2 separate regions of the Homo sapiens genome follow, and region 1 is linked to region 2. The links are contacts of gene promoters, found by promoter capture Hi-C in blood cells and fetal thymus (Javierre and others, 2016). All regions are on one chromosome and are shown on one strand. Each heading gives the region's core, a stretch centred on a gene start or on the middle of the fragment in contact. The rest is flanking DNA. Distances are from core to core; before and after follow the strand shown.

Region 1 (3,984 bases), core at 329-2,828, 170 kb after region 2:
GATGGGAGAGGGCGGAGGAATTCCTTAGATATGGTTAGTGAGATTCAACTTGTCTTATCCCTCCCCTCTGCTGCTGCTTAGTGGAGGAAACAGCGGGAAGGAAAGGAAGCCTTAATCTTACCCCCTTGGTCCTCTCTTCTGGTTTACCTTCCCACTTGTTATTTTAGAATGGTAAGAACTTGTGGAGAATCAGACTAGGACAGAGGAACGGGGGTGAATGAGCAAAAAGAGCTGCAGGATAGCACAGGGGACTCTTTAGCTTGCCTTTTCTTTTTCCTCTTTATCAGTGTCTTCTCTGTTTCCAAAGCTTGACAGAGTTCATCATAGGAAGGAGGAAGGAAGAGATGGCTAAGGGAGTTTCTGCTTTTTGTTTTTTGTTTTTAGACAGAGTTTCGCTCTTGTTGCCCAGGCTGGACTGCAATGGCATGATCTCAGCTCACTTCAATTTCTACCTCCCGGTTTCAAGCGATTCTCCTGCCTCAGCCTCCTAAGTAGCTGGGATTATAGGTGCCTGCCACCATGCCCAGCTAATTTTTTGTATTTTTAGTAGAGATGGGGTTTCACCATGTTGGCCAAGCTGGTCTCGATCTCCTGACCTCAGGTGATTCACCCACCTTGGCTTCCCAAAGTGCTGGGATTACAGGTGTGAGCCACTGCGCCTGGCCTGCTAGGGGAGTTTCTATAGCTGACAATTCATATTCCATCTGCCTGTAATTAAATGAGATTAAAGAGCATAGACTGAGTAGTGTGCAGAAAATAAAAAGATGCAATGCTGAGCATACAAAAAGAATTCTGATGGATCTTAGCCTTAGTATTCAAGGTCATCATCATAATCAACAATTAAATTTTACTCAGGACTTACAAGGTACACGGAATCGTCTTACAACACAGTAGAATTTTTTTTAAAAATGTTATTTAAAGAAGTGGAAGGGGAGTTAGAACAAAAACTTTTGCAGAAAGATGGTACTTAAGGGGGCAATCATGGCATTGGATGCTGGCCAAACATAAATCTTCTGCAGTTTCAGTAAGTTGTAGCCTTAGAATATGTATGTATGTATACATGTGCTTGTGTGTGCATTTTTCCCATTCTCAATAAGTAAAAAAAAAAAAGGAAAACTAAAACAGAGTGAAAGGATAGGCTTGAAAAAGTCAAACCCAGGGAGTGATTTTTAAAGCTGGCTTGTGAATAAAGGAGCCTGCTAGAGAGGTTTATGGCTGGAAGGATAAAAACGTCTGTCATGTTTCAGGATCAGAGAGTAACTTCTTTGGATTACTTGTCACATTTTTCTCTTATCTTATGATGAATTTATTCTCTTGTAAAAATACTGTGTTTTGGTCCATTTGTGTTGTCATAAAGGAATACCTGAGGGTGGGTAATTTGTAAAGAAAAGAGGTTTATTTGGCTCATGGTTCTGCAGGCTGTATAAGAAGCACGGTGCTAGCATCTGCTTCTGGTGAGGGCCTCAGGCTGCTTCCATTCGTGGCAGAAGATGAAGGAGAGCTGTTATGCAGAGATCACATGGTGACAGAGGAAGCAAGAGAGAGAGAGAAAAGGAGTCCCAGGTTCTTTTTCAGCAATCAGTTCTTGTGGGATATAAAAGTGAGAATTCACCCCTCAGAATGGTACCAAGCTATTCATGTGGGATCCGCTCCTGTGACCCAGACACCTCCCACCAGGCCTCACCTTCACCACCGGGGATCATATTTCAACATGAGACTTGGTGAGGCCAAATTATATCCAAACCATAGCATACTGTTTCTTTGCTTTCTGAGAAATTATGTCAAGTTAAAAACTATATTCTTTTATAGTATGTATAGAGTCTGTTCTTCTTGCTAGAGGATTGTTCTAGGAGTTTGGCTACAGTTCTCTTCTACAGCAAATTAGAGACTGTTCATGCGTTTTTTTCAGGGCATTAGAGATTGTACATCTATGTGCATGTATGATGAAACCACTTCATACTTACTATTTTTAAAAACTCTATTGGGCCAGGCATGGTGGCTCAGCCTGTAATCCCAGCCCTTTGGGAGGCCGAGGCAGGCAGATCATCCAAGGTCAGGAGTTCGAGACCAGCCTGGCCAACATGGTGAAACTCCATCTCTACTAAAAATAAAAAAATTAGCTGGGCATGATGGCGTGTGCCTGTAATCCCAGCTACTCAGGAGGCTGAGGCAGGAGAATCACTTGAACCCAGGAGGCAGAGGTTGCAGTGAGCCGAGATCACACCATTGCACTCCACCCTGGGCATTGCAGCGAGACTCTGTCTCAAAACAAAACAAACAAACAAAAAAGCCCTGTTGAGGTTTATATTTAATTGGAGGGCTAAATGTGGTCCTGGAGAATATATTTTGTCCCCTTTTAGGAAATATTTGCTATATCACTTGAGAGTTTTCATACTCCAAGCTCTGGGTGAGATGTAAATTATGAATGTTACTGATTACTGAGAAGGTCAGTGGTTACGTCTTTGAGGTTACATAAAACTGAACAAAGGAGATAAAAAGCTGAGGCATGTACCCATATGAACTTCCTGTTCAAAAGATAAATTGGGAGGAATTTTCTGATTGGCCATAGGCAGTCCCCGTGAGAGGCTCACGAAAGTTTTGTAAAGATGTACTATATGACTGTAATCTCTCTTTTTCAGGTTCTGCCACTTGCTGGGAAAACAGCAACAGAAGGATATTAAGGAGCCACCCCTATAATTTACCCAGATAGCCCCAGCAAGGTCAAAGACATATCATGTCCCAAGGAGAAAAGCTGCAGGCATCTGAGGATAAATCACTGTGAAACAGCTTTGACCATAAAGCTGACTTGGAAGACTTTGACTCCAAGGTGCAAGGTGAGTTAGAAGAACACAAGCTTAAAACCAAAAGCAGGGTTAGGTTAGGCAGCGCTTAATAATAGCAACAGATTAGTGGGACACCACAAAGTCACAGGAAGGTGTTTCTTTATATCTCTTATTTGTATGTCAGATCTTAAAATAATATGTCATAATCCTTATAATAAAAAGTTCTTTTTTTTTTAAGGATAGGAAGTAGAAAAATGTGAAAATATTTGGTAACCATTTTCTGTTTTCTGTATGTAGTCTGGCATCATGTGGAAATATGATACTGCTTTTCCCTTCTTGAGCAATGAACGTGCAGACCTAAACCTTAAAATAGCCAAAATGTTATCCTTGCTTTCTTTATACACATATCCACAAACCCACATTTGACTACAGGTACACATTCTTAAAATGCATCCAGTTTTTATAATCTTCCATAGTAAACAATGAGACAGTCAACTTTTCTTTTTGCTCATGAGACTGAAATGGCTGTGGTACTAGCAATACTTTTTGTGGTATCCTTGTCATCTTTGATATTTGTGGTTATTATTTTAGAGCCGCTTTATATAACTATTTGATATCTTAGGCCTACTGAGTTTGTGGTCTTCACCACTTAGCTGCACCCTCCCAGTTATCCAAAGCTTTCTATTTCTTCAAGGTCAGCCATCCCCAGGGTGGAAGTTTGTGGCATTAATCGTCTTCGGGAGCTTTTTACAAGCTGCACATCCTCTGCTCAAACCTTATTTGCCAGGGGCACAGGGATGGTGGTGGTAGTGGTGATGACAATTCAGACATATATGATTTGGGAAAGTTTCTTTTGTATCCTGATGCCATTCCCGCCCTTTCCTAGCGTGGACTGGTTCCTCTTGGTAGAGCAGAAACCAAGGCTCAGTAATTTAGTGTAATCATTGTTATATTAGAAGCTTTCTGTTTATTACTGTATTGTTTAAAAGCGCATTTTAGATTAGAGCTTGCAAAGTAGCCCACAGGCCAAATTTTTTGCTAACATTTTTTAACCTGTAAAAATTTTCTTTTTATAAGAAAATTAATTGCCAACATTTGAAAATCTGGAAACTTCACATAAAAATCAGATAGATCAGATATCTGGTTTCTCTTGGAAGATTAAAAATCTGGTCTTGTTACTATCCTAGTAACTGTACTTTGC
Region 2 (3,880 bases), core at 542-3,041:
ACAAAATAATATGTATTACCTATTTAGTAGGTAATATTATTCCTACTTTACAGTTAATGAAACCGAAGCTGCAAGTATTAAGTAACTTGTCCAGGCTCACACAATTCAGTAGCAAAACCATGTAACATAATCTGATATTACTTTGCATTATATATTTACATGTAAGATTTCCACAGTGGGGGAAAACAAGCCCTCGGGACATGTCTTTCCTGTTCCTCATTATATATCTAGCTCCTGGCATAGAGCCTGGCACACAGTTGGAGTACAATAAGTATTTATCTGGTTGACTTCATAGCAACCTAGGTCTTAGCATCCAGAACTTGTTCATTTGAAGAACTCCGCCCTCGGTCTACTTAGGGGTTTATTCCTTTCACTTCATTCCAATGCCACTGCTAAATCCAGGCCTTGTTTCTGGATTTCTACTGGGTTTCTGACCTCTCCTCTAAGGCTTGTTAACAAGAAGGCATTTCCCACTTTGCTTGCACTCTATGATTTCTCTTAGTTCCACAGCTGAGCAGTCCACCCTCACTGCCCTCCAACCCCAGGGTTGCTTGTAGAAGTTGAGTAAATCAACAGATGGAGTTAGTTCTGGGTTTTTTGTTGTTGTTGTTGTTGTTTGAGGTGGAGTCTCGCTCTATCCCCCAGGCTGGAGTGCAGTGGTGCAAACTCTGCTCACTGCAAGCTGTGCCTCCTGGGTTCACACCATTCTCCTGCCTCAGCCTCCTGAGTAGCTGGGACTACAGGTGCCCGCCACCACGCCAAACTAATTTTTTTGTATTTTTTTGGTAGAGACGGGGTTTCACCGTGTTAGCCAGGATGGTCTCGATCTCCTGACCTCGTGATCCGCCCGCCTCGGCCTCCCAAAGTGCTGGGATCACAGACGTGAGCCACTGCGCCTGGCCAAGTTAGTTCTGGTTTTAGTCGTACTTTTTATCTCTATTACTTTGGCTATGCTATAGGCCTCAGTTTCCTCATCTCTAACAAATGACGCTGAAATTGAATGATCTCAAAGCTTCCTTCCAACTCTAATGCTATATAGTTTGAACTCTGTCCTATATTGATCATCTATTGAGCTTATGACCAAGATGGTGACAACTCTCCACTTTGACCAAAACTTAGTTAGGCTCCTTTGAGTCCTCTGCTTGACTAGGCTTGATCTTGGGCTTTCTGTCCTTGTAGAATCCAATTTGAGCAAGAATCCTGCTGAATCAGTGTAGTGAAAATCCTCATTCTTGGTGTCTGACTACCATGGATATCAATCACCCTGGCCTGCCTTCAGCAACTATCCTGTCAAGTTGGTTTAGCCAGAATCCTCCTTAACACTGATGTTCCCTCTTTGTAATTTTCCATCCACTGACCTCCCACCAAGCTTCTTGGTTAGAAATTTGTCCTTATTAGAGTCAAAATTCAGTCCAATCTCTCTCTCCCACTGCAAGACCCCATTGCAGCTGTCCCTGGACCTATCTCCATGGCTCCCTTTGTCAAAGTCGGCCTTCCTGTACCATCTCTAACGAGTGTCATGAATAATTTTTTCTTTAACACTGGAAAGAATCCTTGGCCTTAGGGGTGGGGTAAAGCCAGCGTTGGGAAAGCCTGTGCATTAGGCAGCGCTGTTCTGCCTGCAGGGAACGATTGCACAACTGATAACTTGGGCCTAGGCTCAGCTGGATTTGAGGATTTGAGACTTAGACTGGGTCAGGGTCCCCCGCGTCGCCAGGGGGCGCTGCAGGCCGCTCCCCGGAAGGCCTCATCCTGCGCGGCTGGACAGCGCCTGGCGCCGGACTCCTCTTTCTCCCGGAAGCGGAGCACCGAGCCGGCAAAGGCTTGGGTGTGAGACAGCAGCGGTGGCAGACACCGCAGAAGCAAAGAGCAGTGAGGCTCCTGCATTCGGGTGGAGCACCATGGACGAAGCTGGCAGCTCTGCGAGCGGCGGGGGCTTCCGCCCGGGCGTGGACAGCCTGGACGAACCGCCCAACAGCCGCATCTTCCTTGTGATCAGCAAGTACACACCTGAGTCGGTGCTGAGGGAGCGCTTCTCGCCTTTTGGCGACATCCAGGACATCTGGGTGGTGCGGGACAAGCACACCAAGGAGTCCAAGGGCATTGCTTTCGTCAAGTTCGCCCGCAGCTCACAGGCCTGCAGGGCCATGGAGGAGATGCATGGCCAGTGCCTCGGCCCCAACGACACCAAGCCCATCAAGGTGCGGGTGCCCGGGTCGGGGTGCCCTCGGGGGAAGGAGTGGGCCTCTTGGACCTCCCTTCACCTGCTGCTCTGCCGGGGTGAGGGAGGAGTGGAACATCCGTTCCCGGCAGCTGACCAGACAGCACCTGGCTTGGGGACAGGGGCTGCTTTGAGGAGAGGCTCCCCTCCCACGAAGCTGCGCCGGGTTGCAGGGAAGGGGACGGGATGCGGAGTGTTTGCCCCACGAGAGCGGACCCGGCAGCCGCGGCCACCGGGTGACAGAACAGCAGTGGCTGGGCTTCCCCTCTCCCTCGCCCTCACTAATCCACCAGCTCTTGAGTTCACTGCCAAACTCGTCCTAGCCTACTTTGAGTACTTTTCTGACCTTCCTCTCTCAGATGCCCAGATTTCCATATATAAAAAACGGAAAAACTCTACTTTTCCTCAGGTACAGATGAGGCGTTAACAACTTGACAGAAGTACTTTAAACTGGGGAGGGACCTCTGGTGTTGGACGTTTTCCTAGTACCAGGCGAAAGAATACATGTACAGAAAGAATAAGTGCAGGTGTTTAAAACGGTCACTGTTACATATTCTTCACATTTTGTTATTTTGGAAAATTGTTTTGAATGAGCTCTGTTTCTGAAAGTGTTAATAGCATACATTTGGTTCTTGACCCTTTCTGTTACTGCAACTTTTCTTTGAAAGCAGACCAAAGTAAACTGCCTTAAGAAGAGCCAAATCATTGTGATAATGACACATGGCAGGAAGGATCATTTTGAGGGTTATTTGACATAATATGTGCTGTCAGCACAGTGCCTCACACAGGGTAAGCCCTCAATAATGTCCTTGTTATTGATCAGTAGTAGCCAAGATGTCACAGCTTACTCCCTGTGATCTCAAATCAGGACTCAATCCTGAGAATCTGGCAATTGCTTAAATTGTAGCCTTCGTCTGCCCCATGTAAATAGTTGCTGTGTATGTTATTCTGTTGGTACTTTGCACAAAAATATTTTCTCAATTTTTTAAAAAATTGTTTTCCAAACTGAGAATGGTATTAATATGGATTTATGTAAATAAAGGGCTCAGAGATATTTCAGTCTCTGGAGGTCTTGCTCCATCCACCAAAGAGAAGGAGCCTGGGACTCTACCAACAACACAGTAAACAGTCCCTTCCTCCCACTTCTCCAACCCTCTGAAGTGTGTCAGAGTGACAGCAACAAAATTAATTGTAGGGCCACAGCATACAGGATCAGGAATTGGCAAACTTTTTCTGTAAAGGGCTGACTAGTAAATATTTTAGGCTTTGCAGGCCACATACAGTCTCTGTCACATAACCTTGTCTGTTTTTACAGTCCTTAAAAACTGTAAAAACAATTATTACATCATGGGCTATACCAAAAATGGAGCTGTGGTTTGCTGACCCCTGTACTAGACTAATGAATTTTATCGCTGTCCAATTATGACCTTAGTGGAGAGGATTTTTATATTTTGAGTGTAACATGGCCACAGAGCCCTTGTGGGCAGCCCAAAAAACTGTCCCATATTTGAAATTGATGGACCACCTTCCCCTGATAAATTTCTATAAGAGAAATTAAAGGCCCAACACCGAAATGTACCCTCTCTTTTAGCCTCAGAGAAATTAAAGATCTTGTTCCCAAAAAGAAATAAACTTTACTATTTTCTTTGTCACATTTTT

Evidence for each region. The method cuts DNA at HindIII sites, captures the fragments that hold promoters and counts their contacts. A CHiCAGO score of 5 or more calls a contact.
Region 1: a contact is called between a fragment that was not itself captured here and the fragment with the promoter of RBM45 in region 2, in 3 of 17 cell types (monocytes, megakaryocytes and naive CD8 T cells). The highest score is 7.3, in monocytes.

The regions. Positions count from the first base shown.
Region 1 is chr2:178,282,288-178,286,271 of GRCh38, forward strand. It overlaps OSBPL6 (oxysterol binding protein like 6), which reads left to right. Exons shown (of 25, transcript NM_032523.4): 2 at 2,640-2,834. Among named protein-coding and RNA genes, the nearest start is that of OSBPL6, 90 kb to the left of the region's middle. The HindIII fragment of the contact is 2,547 bases long and covers 306-2,852 here.
Region 2 is chr2:178,110,646-178,114,525 of GRCh38, forward strand. It overlaps RBM45 (RNA binding motif protein 45), which reads left to right and starts at 1,792. Exons shown (of 10, transcript NM_152945.4): 1 at 1,792-2,201. The coding sequence starts at 1,902. RefSeq lists an enhancer at 1,828-1,997. The HindIII fragment of the contact is 3,392 bases long and covers 1,368-3,880 here.